Linked DNA regions of Homo sapiens: region 1 is linked to region 2. The links are contacts of gene promoters, found by promoter capture Hi-C in human tissues and cell types (Jung and others, 2019). All regions are on one chromosome and are shown on one strand. The core of a region is centred on a gene start or on the middle of the fragment in contact, and the rest is flanking DNA. Distances in the headings are between cores, read along the strand shown. Region 1 overlaps LOC107985443 (a long non-coding RNA gene). Region 2 holds the start of SYT6 (synaptotagmin 6).

Evidence for each region. Contacts are between HindIII fragments. The study calls those that stand out against the background at their distance.
Region 1: a fragment that was not itself captured here is called in contact with the fragment with the promoter of SYT6 in region 2 in 1 of the 25 tissues and cell types used here (psoas muscle).

The regions. Positions count from the first base shown.
Region 1 is chr1:114,200,034-114,206,322 of GRCh38, forward strand. It overlaps LOC107985443 (a long non-coding RNA gene), which reads right to left. Exons shown (of 3, transcript XR_001737803.1): 3 at 5,020-5,056. Among named protein-coding and RNA genes, the nearest start is that of SYT6, 49 kb to the left of the region's middle. The HindIII fragment of the contact is 5,144 bases long and covers 1-4,889 here.
Region 2 is chr1:114,152,619-114,159,044 of GRCh38, forward strand. It overlaps SYT6 (synaptotagmin 6), which reads right to left and starts at 1,251. Exons shown (of 8, transcript NM_001253772.2): 1 at 992-1,251. The coding sequence starts at 1,154. RefSeq lists an enhancer at 2,426-3,039 and a silencer at 3,969-4,263. The HindIII fragment of the contact is 10,069 bases long and covers 1-6,426 here.

The sequences.
Region 1 (6,289 bases), core at 1,068-3,567, 48 kb after region 2:
TCATCGATGGGAGAATAAAGAAATGTGGTATGTGTATACAAGGAAATACTACTCAACCTTGAAAAGGAAGGAAATTCTGACACACGCTCCAGTGTGAATGAACCTTGAGGACATTATACCAAGTGAAATAATCCAGCTATAGAAAGAAAAATACTATATGATTCAACTTATATGAGGTATTTCAAGTAGTCAAACTCTTAGGAACAGAAAGTAGAATGGTGGTTGCTAGAGGGTGGGACCGAGGGTGGTGAGGAAAGAGGAATTATTAGCATCATTCCATGATTGTAGAGTTTCAGTTTTGCAAGATGAAAAATCTCTACAGATTCACTGCACAACAGAAAATTGTTAAGATTGGAAATTTTATGTTATGCATTTTTTCCCACAAATTTCAAAAATGGAAAAAAAACAGAAAGGAAAGAAAAAAAAAAAGAAAGGACCAGAAAACTTGAGCTGAGTTATTGTCATTTAAGATGAAAGAAAAAAAAGGGAGGGAACACAGAGGCAGTAATTAGTCCCAGAACCTAATTCTAGGAATGTCCGGAAGTCAAAAGTTACTTGGTGGAATTTAAAGTGGTACTGAGGAGGTATTTGTGGGCAGAAACCCTCCCTTAAATCAATAATGCTCAAGCCTTTTTCCAGGTTGGACACACCAGAAAAAAAATCTCCCATGGCTATACCCAGTGTAATGACAAATGCCTGCTCTCTTAAACTTCACCTGTCTCTCTGCCCCACTCAAAACCCCTCTCACATAGAATAAATGGCAAAAGAAAAGTCTACATGGAGTAATTTCTTTCAAAAAAGGAACAGCAGAAGTAGGAAGAGGGGAGAGGAAGAGAAGAGGGAGTGAGCAGCAGCTGAAATTACAGTCTTAAAAAATGCTTATTTTCAATTATACACAAAAAAGAAAATAATGCAAAGATTTCATAGCCAACATTGTACTGCGTATAAAAATTGTGCCACAGTAGTCACAAAAGCTCTTCATGTTGCTGGCAGAGACAGAGAGCTTATGGCTTATTCAAACAAAATCTCACCAATCTCAATGGTGAGGGTTTTGGGTTTAATCAGATTGCTTTCCCCACACCTACCATAAGAAAATGGAAGGAAGATGAGATATAATTTGGAGGCATGGAATCTTATGAAGATAAACAGGCTAAAGCCAGGGGTCTTGGGTAGTCAAAGGGAAGTTCATGGAGATGAGAGTAAAAGAGATTGTTACTGGCAGACTAGAGGAAGTATGGGCAAGGCAGTGAAGACAAATTTTACCACTAGAAAAAAAAAATGCTGCAATTTCGTTCTGCCTTCTCCCTTCTTAGAATCAAAATAGCTTTTACTTAAATGTTATTAGTCCTTGCCTTCCTCCCACCCCAACTGCCATGGGCACTAGAGGGGTGAGACAAAGCAAAAATGAACCTGCATGGGGAGCTGGTTCAGTAGCAGCAATGGGGCTCCCAGGGATTGTCCAAGGCAAGCTGCAAGATACAAGGAGGAATGTGCTGGATTATTGATGCCATGAGGTACACAAAAAGACAACTTGGTGGAAACTCTGTCACACAGATTGCTACAAGAAAGCTAGCCTGGCTAGCAGCCATGCATAGTGTCACTTTAATGTGCAGCCCTTCTGACCTGGGAGAAGGCTGCCAGAGGCGGCATTCCCTAAGGGAGGCTGTGAGATTTGCCCTGCCCACTCTGGACACCGGGTTCCTGTCAGCAGTAGTTAGGTGGGACTCTTTTCCCAGTCAGATTCCATTTATGAAAATACTGAGAATTGTTCTTTAATTTAGACTTTAATAAAGATAAGACAAAGGTTAATTGAGAATGGCTGAGTCTCACATTACGTAATGAAGACTGCCTAAAATCTACTGTACTGTTAACTTGGAAAATTGCTGCTGAATTCTGATATTGACCTCCACGCCTTCCTAACTAAAGAATTGATGGGTGTGTTGATTTTATGTTACCCAAGTCTAGCTGACCTGTATCTTCCATTCTTTCTAATTCTTGGCTCATATTGGTCTGGGTTCATATGGATTTTTTTTGTATCAAGGATCTTGTTACTAATTGCAGAGAATTCTCAATCTCTACAACTGTAATTTATCAAAGTTCAGATTTTTAAATAACAAAGGCCACATCAATTGCTGTCTAGGGAGGTTGCCTCGTCCAAAGTGCTCTGCAAAATGCCTGCTGTCAGTTACTTATAACCCAAAAATGGCTCCTTTCTCTACTTGGAATGTGCTGATCTCCTCCATCATCAGCATCTGCTTGCCTCTGCTCAATTGCCTCTGCTGGTGGGCTGGGCTGGAAACTGGCTCCTTTTGGTAGCAAGAATTACTTCAGGAGTGAATCTCATCTTCTCGCTTTGGAAATCTAGAAATACATCCTAGAACTTCTGGCACAACCCCATTCAACATACACCTTTGGCCCTGGCAGGTTTTAGAGCTTTACTCTATAGGTATTTTATGTTTACAGATGATGACTAGAAAGAATTTGACTAGAAGACCACTATGTAAGGACACGAGTTTATACACTGTGCAAAGGTGCCCAGCCAAGGAGGCAAGTGGGGCTGAATTCCAGTCCTGCAGGAAGGAATGCCTTTTCTTTGCACAAAGGCAACAGCTCCCACCAACCCATGTGCTGGTGAAGCTGTGTCCACACAAGGAGTATCCTTTTTGAATTTACACACTCCATAGGCTGGCAGCAGCCTTCCCTGAAACAGATGCTGTGGGATGGGGAAATTGGTTTTTAAAGAGCTCAAAGAAAAGTTTACCAGGATCATTCATGGAGGAAAAGTCAGCATGATCATCCCCAAAGTGGAAGCCAACAGTGATCAATCAAAAGACCAAAGAGGGCCAGGCGTGATGGTTCACGCCTGTAATCCCAGCACTTTGGGAGACGGAGGCAGATGGATCATTTGAGGTCAGGAGTTCAAGACCAGACTGACCAACATGGTGAAACCCTGTCTCCCCTAAAATACAAAAATTTGCCAGGCGTGGTGATGGGCACCTGTAATCCCAACTCATTGGGAAGCTGAGGCAGGAGAATCGCTTGAACCCAGGAGGTGGAGGTTGCAGTGAGCCGAGATCGTACCACAACACTCCAGCATGGGTGACAGAGCGAGACTCCCTCTAAAAAAAAAAGACCAAAGAGAGGCTAGGCACGGTGGCTCACACCTGTAATCCCAGCACTTTGGGAGGCTGAGGCAGAAGGATTGCTTGAGTCCAGGAATTCAAGACCAGCCTGGGCGACATGGTGAGACCCTATCTCTACAAAAAATTAAAAAAAAAAACTAGCCAGGTGTGGTGCTGAGTGCCTGTGGTCCCAGCTACTTGGGAAGCTAAGGTGTGAGGATCACTTGAACCCAGGAGGCAGAGGTTGCAGTGAGTTGAGATCATGCCACTGCACTCCAGCCTGGGCAACAGAGTGAAACTGTCTCAAACAACAACAACAACAAACCCCAAAGACCAAAGATTAAGAATCTAAAGCTTTACTCTCTAGCTCCATTGGAAGATGCTTCGCTTTTCTTTTCTTCTCTGCCCCTGCATTATTTCTCAGAGAGAAAGAGCTGATTTTTCCATGTGAAATAGGGAGGAAGAGGGCTTAGATGATACAGCACATACCACAGAACACAGGAGCCAGTTCAAAGATGCATGAGCTGCCATAATACCACAAACACACCACTTATCCCATGGAGTAACTCCAAGGACTGATCACATTCAGCCACAGTGAGGGTAGCCAGGGGGCTAAATGCACTAGCCCAACATGCATCAAAAGGGCAGCTTTGTTCATTGTGCCAGCACCTGCCCTCAGATACTGCTTCTTCCGGCTTCCCTTTCATTCTCTCATCTCTTGCGCTTTCTTTCTTGCTGCTCATATCCTATGTTCTGGAATTCTCGCTGCCTCCCAGACACTGTGGTTCACTTTGATTGATGCTCTTTGTTCTCTGTGTAAGTAGAGAACTGCCGAACAGAATAATATAGTCTTCAGCCAACTCTATCTTTCCTTTTGTTCCTACCTTGCCTGCTCAGGCACAGCAGTCGATGTGGGAACAAATGTTTTTGAGCACCTACTCTGTGATGCATGATTCTAGGCACTGGGAACACAGTGGTGATCAAACCAGTCAAAAATCCCTGCTGGAGGGGATGAGGTGAGGGAGGGATAGACAATAAACAAAATAAGTAAATTGGCCGGGTGCAATGGCTCACATCTATAATCCCAGCACTTTGGGAGGCAGAGGCAGGCAGATTGCTTGAGCCCAGATGTTTGAGGCCCACCTGGGCAACCAGATGAAACTTCATCTCTACAAAAAATATAAAAATCAGCTGGCTCAAACAAATTAACAAGAAAAAAAAAATCCCTTCAAAAAATGGGCTAAGGACATGAATAGACAATTCTCAAAAGAAGATACACAAATGGCCAACAAACATGAAAAAATGCCCATCATCACTAATGATCAGGGAAATGCAAGTCAAAACCACAATGTGATATCACCTTACATCTGCAAGAATGGCCATAATAAAAAAAAATAGATGTTGGTGGGGATGTGGTGAAAAGGGAACACTATTACACTGCTGGTGGGAATGTCAACTAGTACAACTATGGAAAACAGTGTGAAGTTTCCTTAAAGAAGTAAAAGTAGAACTATCATTTCATCCAGCATCCACTACTGGGTATCTACCTAGTGGAAAAGAAGTCATTATACAAAAAAGATACTTGCACACGCATGTTTATAGCAGCACAATTCGCAATTGCAAAAATATGAAACCAGCCCAAACGCCCTTCAATCAATGAGTGGATAAGAAATTGTGGTATGGCCTGGCGCGGTGGCTCACACCTGTAATCCCAGCACTTTGGGAGGCCAAGGCGGGCGGATCATGAGGTCAGGAGTTCGAGACCAGCCTGGCCAACGTGGTGAAACCCTGTCTCTACTAAAAATACAAAAATTACCTGTGTGTAGTGGCACACGCCTGTAATCCCAGCTACTCAGGAGGCTGAGGCAGGAGAATCGTTTGAACCTGGGAGGCAGAGGTTGAAGTGAGCCGAGATCACGCCATTGCACTCCAGCCTGGGAGACAGGGTGAGACTCCGTCTCAAAAAAAAAAAAGAAATTGTGATGTGTGTGTGTGTGTGTGTGTGTGTGTGTACATATATATATAGTATTCCGTGGCGTGTGTGTGTGTATGTGTGTATATATATATAAATATATATGTAATTATATATTATATATTATATATAATTATATAAATATATATGTGATTATATAATTATATAATATATAGTTATATAAATATATATAATTATATATTTACATATATAATTATATAAATATATATAATTATATATTTACATATATAATTATATATAATAAAGGAATGAGATAATGGCATAAAAGGAATAAAAAGGAATGAGATAATGGCATTGGCAGCAATCTGGATGGAATTGGAGACCATTATTCTAAGTGAAGTAACTCAGGAATGGGAAACCAAACGTCGTATGTTCTCACTCATAAGTGGGAGCTAAGCTATGAGGATGCAGAGGTATAAGAATGATACAATGGACTTTAGGGACTTGGGGGAAAGGGTGAGAAGGAGGTGAGGGATAAAAGACTACAAATTGGGTACAGTGTACACTGCTTGGATAATGGGTGCACCAAAATCTCACAAATCACAACTAAAGAACTTAATCACGTAACCAAACACCATCTGTTCCCCAAAGATCTATGAAAATAAATAAAAATAATAAAAATAAAAATAAAAAAGTTAAAATGCTATACATGTAAAAAAAAAAAAAATAGCATGGTGGCACATGCCTATAGTCCCAGTTACTCCAGAGGCTGGGGTTGGAGCCTTGAGCCCAGGAGGTAGAGGCTGCAGTGAGCTGAGATCACGCTACTGCACTCCAGCCTGGGTGACAGAGCAAGACCTTGACTCAAAAACAAAAAAGTAAATAAGATATATGGTATACTAGATGGTGGCAAGTGTTAAAGAGAAAAATAAAGCAGGAGAGTGTGGAGGGTGTGGTGGTGAACATCCTGTGGTCTCAGCTACTTGGAAGGCTCAGGAGTGTGTAAAAAATACGTTTATATTTCTCTTCAGTAAATATCTGGAATTGAGATTCCTGGGTCCAATCATAAGTGTATGCTTAACAAACGTTAAACTGAAGAAAGAAACTGTCAAATGGTTTGCCATTTCATAATGGGTGGCCAAGAAAGCCCTTGATGAGAAGATGAATTCTGGTTAAAGATCTGAAGGAGGTGAGTGAGACTTGACATGTCTAAGGAGAAAATGCAGTGATCTTT
Region 2 (6,426 bases), core at 1-2,500:
ATACCCTGGGCCGGCCGCCACGTCGCCGACCCTCCCGCAGCTCCCGCCGCCAGGGCGCGACACGCCATTCCCCCTGCCGCGACTCCCCGGAGACGCCGCAGCTGCGCGCCAGGGTCCAGCCCGGCGGGGATCGGGCTCGGGACTCACCCGCTCCGGCGAGCTCGACTCAGCTCGGGCTCCCGCCTCGGCTAGGCAGCCGCCTGGGGCTGCGTCCCGCGCAGGGTCAGCGCGGATCGGGCAGGAGGCGCCCTCTTGGCAAAGTCGGCTAGAGGCGCCAGCTCAGTCGCGCACCGGCCCCGAGTCCGAGTCCGAGAGGGACGGAGGGAGCGAGTTATAGGGGCGAGAGGGGGTGGGGGAAGGACGCCGCAACACCCTCATACCCTCCCCCACCCCGCCCCCTGTCCCCCGCCCCCCAGCGGAGACGCGGAAAACCACTCGCAGCCGGAGAGACACCCGGACACAAAGACCTCGTGCCAGCCGCAGACCCAAGTTTCTCCCGGAGAGACTGGGGGTCCGCCCGCGTTCACCGCGAGAACACACAAACGGACGGACAGACCGACGCACGGACCCGGGGACCTCGACACTCGCTAGGAGGCAAGCCCTATTCCTCAGCCGGGCGCCCCTCGTCTCCCGCTCTCTCCATGGACCCCTCTCCTGGCAAATCGCCCGCAGAGCGAGCTTGGAGATGCGAGGGAAACTGAAGCCCCAAGGGTGCCCCGTCCTGGGAGCCTGGCTGTCTGCGGGGTCCCCCGCATTCCGCAGTAGTAATACAGGAGGGCCGGGGGCTTCTACCCCAACCTCCGCTCCCCTTCGGGTCTCTCCTGGCTGTGCAAGCGATGGGCCAGAGGGCTGGACGAGGCTGGCTCCCAATCCAGAATCCCGAGCTGGGGAGTTCTCTCTAGGTTCTGGGGCTCCTGGGACCGGGGCTTTGGGGAAGGGAGATCGCAGGACGGATATCCAGGAAGGGAGGGGGCCCTGGGTCTCCCGTTACCTGCGCCTGCCGCGCTGGGACTCCGCTCTGGGGGCTGCAGCTCGAAGCTCCGACAAGTCTCCACGTCCAGCCCGAGAGGGGGCGGCCGGGCCCGGCACAGCGAGGCGAGGACCGCGAGCGCCTCCTGGCACCGAGGCCCGCCGGCCCCCCACACTCCGCTCATGCCCTAGACACCCAGGCTTGCCGAGCAGCAGCTCGAACCCGCGCCCCGGCCGCACTGGGGCGGGGCACGACGGCCCCAAGAAGACCCTCCCTGCAGCGGCCCCCTGCGGCTCCGCTCTGCTTTTAATCACTTCCCCGCAGGGTCCCCGCCCCTCACGTGGCATCCCGCGGCAGCTGGCGAGTCTGGCGCCTCGCGGCCGCCCCCTCTACACTCAGGGACTGGCCTGAGTCCGGGGGGTGGGGGTTTCGAGGCGGGAAGCCGGGCTGTCCCGAATCTCGGAGGGTGCAAGGCCAGGAAAGAGTCCGGGTTCCCACTCCGCATTCACTGCCTGGTGTGACCTTGGGCGTCTCTGAGCCTCAATTTTCCTCTCCGTAAAGGAGGTGTAATGATTTTAAGTACTTCACGGACTCCCTGGGGATAGAAAGATCGTGTTTGTGAAAACACTGGGTAAACTGCCACATGCCACACGAATGACAGAGAAATAGATAACCCCGTAACAGAAAGAGCGACGGTCAGGCAGGGTCTGGGAGGACCTTGGCCGAGGTTCCTGACGGGAGCAGTTAGACTGGCCCCCGAGTCCCAGCTTCGGAGGTAGAAGACCCCAAGACAGGCGGGCGATGCGAACTGCAAGACTTTCCGAGCTCCGCAATCCTGCGGTCCGCGGTACCCGCATGTTGCTATGGCGACGGGAGGCAGCGGCCGTCTCTCTCCATGGCAACGGGAGGGAAAAGTTTCTGGCAAACAGGAATGGGGGGTCATTTCAAGAGGGCGCAGGGCGCTCAGTTCCGCCGACCCACCTCCTTGCTTCGGTGAAACAGCACCAGAGATCATGTATCTTTCTGCTAAGCATAACAAGAAAGACAGAAAGCTCAACGGGAGGATTGAGGCTAGACTTAAAGTAGAGATCCCCTCAGAAACTGTGGAGTGAGGCCCAGGAACAGATCGGCTGAGAGGCTTCGAGCTGCCTCACTCAGCGCTGGAAGTCTGTGAGCCATGGTCAGGGAGGCCGGGGGACCAGCGCCCTGCAGGGGCCTATCTCGGGAGTCTCTTGATCTACACCTGTCGGCGGTGGGGCCCCTTCTGTGTGGGGCTCGCCTGAAGCCCCAGACTCAGGTCCATTTGCTCTCCCGGAGCTGGGAAGGAAGCTTTAGCTGCAGCCCCTGGAGGCTGCTGGGTTGGTGTATGCCCGAGTGGCTGGCGAGGGAGAAAGGTCTTGCCTCTTAATTAACACGCTTATTGGAAGTGACTCGGGCAGTGACTCACGTTCCGGAGGGAGGAGATTCGGAGCCTTAGCTCCTGGCGGTCTCCACTGCGCGCCATCTGTGCCAACCGGCCCTTGGACTTGCGATCCCCTAGCAGCTGGTGCCTGGGGCACCAAGGGCTAAGGCAAGGCCTGTGAGGACCCTGGCCCAGCCAGGCGGCTTTTCCACCGTGAGGCGCCCCCTGGCTCTGTCCACGGTGCTGAAGACCCAGTTGGTGCTACCATCGCGTGGGCATAAGTTTAGGGGACGAGGGAGAGGCAATTGTTGAAGGTTCGCAGCTTCCACCCTGACCCCTGTGCCTGTGATAGCAGAAGGCTAGGAACTCAGGCAGGGACCAAGCAGACACGACGCAGGCGATACTGTGCAATCCGGGCTGCCTTCCTGCTGGAGGTGTTTGGTTGCTGTTCCAAGAACAAGTGGGGCTCTGGCATCCCTATGCGCCTTCCTGGTGCTTCTGAAAACCCACCTGAGGAGCCTAGAGGCCCCATTAATTTCTTTTCCATCACCCGATGCAGATCTCAGCACCCAGAAGAGCCTCTGGCTAAACGCTTATTAGCAGTTTCCCAAGTGGCAGGTTTGTGTTTATGTAAAATACAAATGGAGAACTGCTCTTTGCCCGTGTTTATGGCAACTCTGTCACTCCCCTGCTATTTCTCCCTCCCCCTCGCGAGTTCCTGGGGGAAATTCACAGAACAAAGCACCTTGTTTTGCCTTTGCAGAGAATGAAAAAACACAGGACCATTCCAAGGGCCCAGACCTGTGATGCAGGGAAATCAATATTTTGCTTACATCGAGTGGGGGAATTTGCATCTAAACTGAAGGCAAAGGAGCTTGTTTGGAGCAGAGCAGGTGGCAGGAGCCGAGAATTAACAGATAATTTCTCATTGTTCCTGGATTCAGCCTCCACACTCGGCAGGCGCTTCTGCAGCGTCTCTGGCGCCCCGGCAGCAGCTCCGGACCTGGCATTTCTCAATCTAGCAGTGTGAAGGAGCTGCTGCCCTGATAGGGCTGCAGAAACAGGTTAGGGCCCCTGGGTCAGTCAATAGCTATTGAAGTTGGATTGTAGGAGTTAGCGTGTGTGGGAGAGACAGAGATGAGAGAGACAGAGAGAAAGAAACAGAGACAGAAATAGAGGCAAGAGACAGATACAAATGAGAGAGACAGAGGATGAGACAGAGATACAGAGAGACAGTTATAGGAAATAGAGAACAGAGAAACAGACAGGGAGACAGATGTACAGGTAAAGAAACACACATTCAGAAGGAGACATTAAGGTAAAGCCTCACCCTAGTTGTCCTCTTTAGCCCGCTACCTCCCCCAGCCCCCAGGTCAATTGCTGATACCACTGTGGTCACATAACCAGCCACAAAGCAGAAAAATTCTTCATGTAATGATGGAAACTTTTTTGTCTCTCAAACCCCTTTGCCCTGCAAACCCAACCCCCAAACACACCTTTGCTTCTTCCCATATGAAGAGATAAAATTCAGAGTCCCAGGGTCCCACCAAGAGCTGGGAGGGAGGATCCAGGGTCCCACTCAAACCCAGAGAGGGAAAGAGGTGGAAAGAAGTGGAATTGTTGCCCTTCAATTCTATCTCTCAGAGAAATCCCATTCTGAGTTTGGGTTTAGGGGTGGGGAGGAGAGAAGCAGGAGCAGAGACAGTTAAGCATGGAGTGGTGGCAAATAAGTACATTGGACAGGGCCTGGGAGGGCTGGGATTCAGGGCTGGTGCACCAAAGCAGCCACGAGGCTGTCACATCCCCTATCTGGGGCTCAGTGTGCCTATGTGAAGTTGGATTAGGAGCTCTTTGAGGCTCCTTCCAGCAACAGCACTCTAGGATTTTACATGAGGGAGAAAAGAGGAGGCTGGGGCAAAGGGAGGAGGGAGGCAGCCTTTCCTGGCTCTGAAGCTGAGGGTGGTTTTACAGAGGCCAACTCACTTTCAGCTCCCCCTCCCCCATCGTTCTCATTGCGCCTACAGCCATGCATGGAGCATCCCGAGTCTGGGCACCTCCAGACCAGACTTCTCAGATGCAGGAAGAGGAGCTGGGGTGGAATGGGAGGCAGAATGAGAGGAGGTTTGAGACAGAAACAAGAGGCCTCCCACTCCTATGCCCTCCTCTCTTCGGAAATAGCCAATGTGCTCATCTCCTGCCCCCAACTTAAGTCTCTGCCCTTGGGCAGGCTCCCACTCTGCTCTGAGCAGCAATGTCTTGTTGAGTTATGTTGCAAATAAAATAAATTAAAACCAAATAATAATTTCTTTAAAAAAATTGAACCTTGGTAGGAAATTGCTAATGCTGTAGGCGGGAAGAATGAGCTCCTTTGACATGAGCCGATGTGTCATATTGTCTTTCCATCTCAATGCAATTTCTAAATAGGGAGCCCTTTCCCCATTCCCTCCTCCCTCCAAGTCCCCAGCAGAAATGTAAAGGGAGCAGTCTGACGATTGTAGCTGGATTGTCTGACGTGCAGGGAGAGACACAGAGGAATAGACACACAAGCACACCTACAGCTTTGCCACGTGGATAGAAGCTAAGGAGGCTCTGACCCAACCCTGAGGGCCCCTGGTCTCTTCTCCCCACCTCCCCCATCCTCTGCTTACTGAGGCATGTAGCCGCCTTCTGCAGAAGTGTTAATTTACTCAAAAAAACAAACATCAGTTGAACCTAGTCTACTGCAGAATCAAGTTGAGGTCCTGTATTTGAGGGTATAACTTCATATCATTATTTGGAATAAACTGTACTATGGATTCCCTATGGGGTTTCAGCCAGAACAGCTTTATCAGTATTTCCTGCAGATGACACTCTCTCCCCCAGCCCCCATACCAAGATAGCAAATCTAGCCAAAGCTGGGTGACTTCTGCAAATCATGCTGTCCCAAGCCATCATCAGAGTTTTCAGGGATTCCTCCTTACCTGAGAAGATGCAGAAGACGTTGCAGAGCTCAAGGTCAATGCCTAGGTGCTTTTTGAAAGCGTCCATTCTTGCTTTTATTCCAAGAAATATGCTTGGCAGTTCAAACATCCTGAACCAGGGTATATTTGCCTCTCTCCCATTCCTCCCCTATTTCAGCAGTCTCATCTCTGTTCTGTGCTCTCTGCTCAAGCACACAATATTCCACATCAGACTTGGGAAGACTGGACAATGTTTTCTGCATCCAGCCTGGCTTTGTGGACAAAAGCAGGCTGGAGTTCGGGGAAGCAGAGACAGGTTGAAGGTCAGAAGGCAGTATCATCCTTCAAACAACTTTAGAGCTAGGCCTAACCATGGTGGGTCGAGGTCTGTCTCCATTACTGAGAAGTGAAGATGATGTCAGAATGGAAGGGCTAGGAAGGGAGCCAAATAGTCCTCTTCTCACTGACCTTGTACAGAAGAAACAGCACGGCTTTGGAGTTGGACAGATCTGCGTTCAAATCCTGGGTCTGTTATTTACCAACTGGATTGCTTTAGGTGCTATACTTTAGCTCTCTGAACTTCAGCTTCCTCATTTGTAAAACGGGACATATAGGGCCTGCTTCACAGTGTACAAGGCAAGGATTACATGAGTTGGGTTAAATGGTGAAGGTACTGTGACTGATCCATGGCAAGTGTTAAATGATGGTTCCTGTCCCCTTTCTTCCTTTTTTCAGAATGTAGAGGAAAATTTAGCAGGTACACTATTCAGAGGTTAACCTGTATTCTTCCATGGGGCAAGTCTCTGCAAATTGTCCAGAAGGAATTTATCTCATGTAATTCTTACAAAAATACTGAGAGGCACAATGGGTGGATCCTAATCATCCATCTAGTAGATGAGGAGATTAAGTGACTGGTTCCTAGTCCACAAGGGAGGAGATGGCAGAGAACTGGAATTCAGGCCTTCAGACAGCAGATCAGCGCTCCTTCCTTCTTCACCATGCGGCAGAAAGATGGTGGGGATGTGAATACTTTTTCTTATTTTCTTACAAAAGGTTACAATATTTTAAAATTGCCTTTACAATAAATAAAAATTTAGAAATAAATTACAATGCAG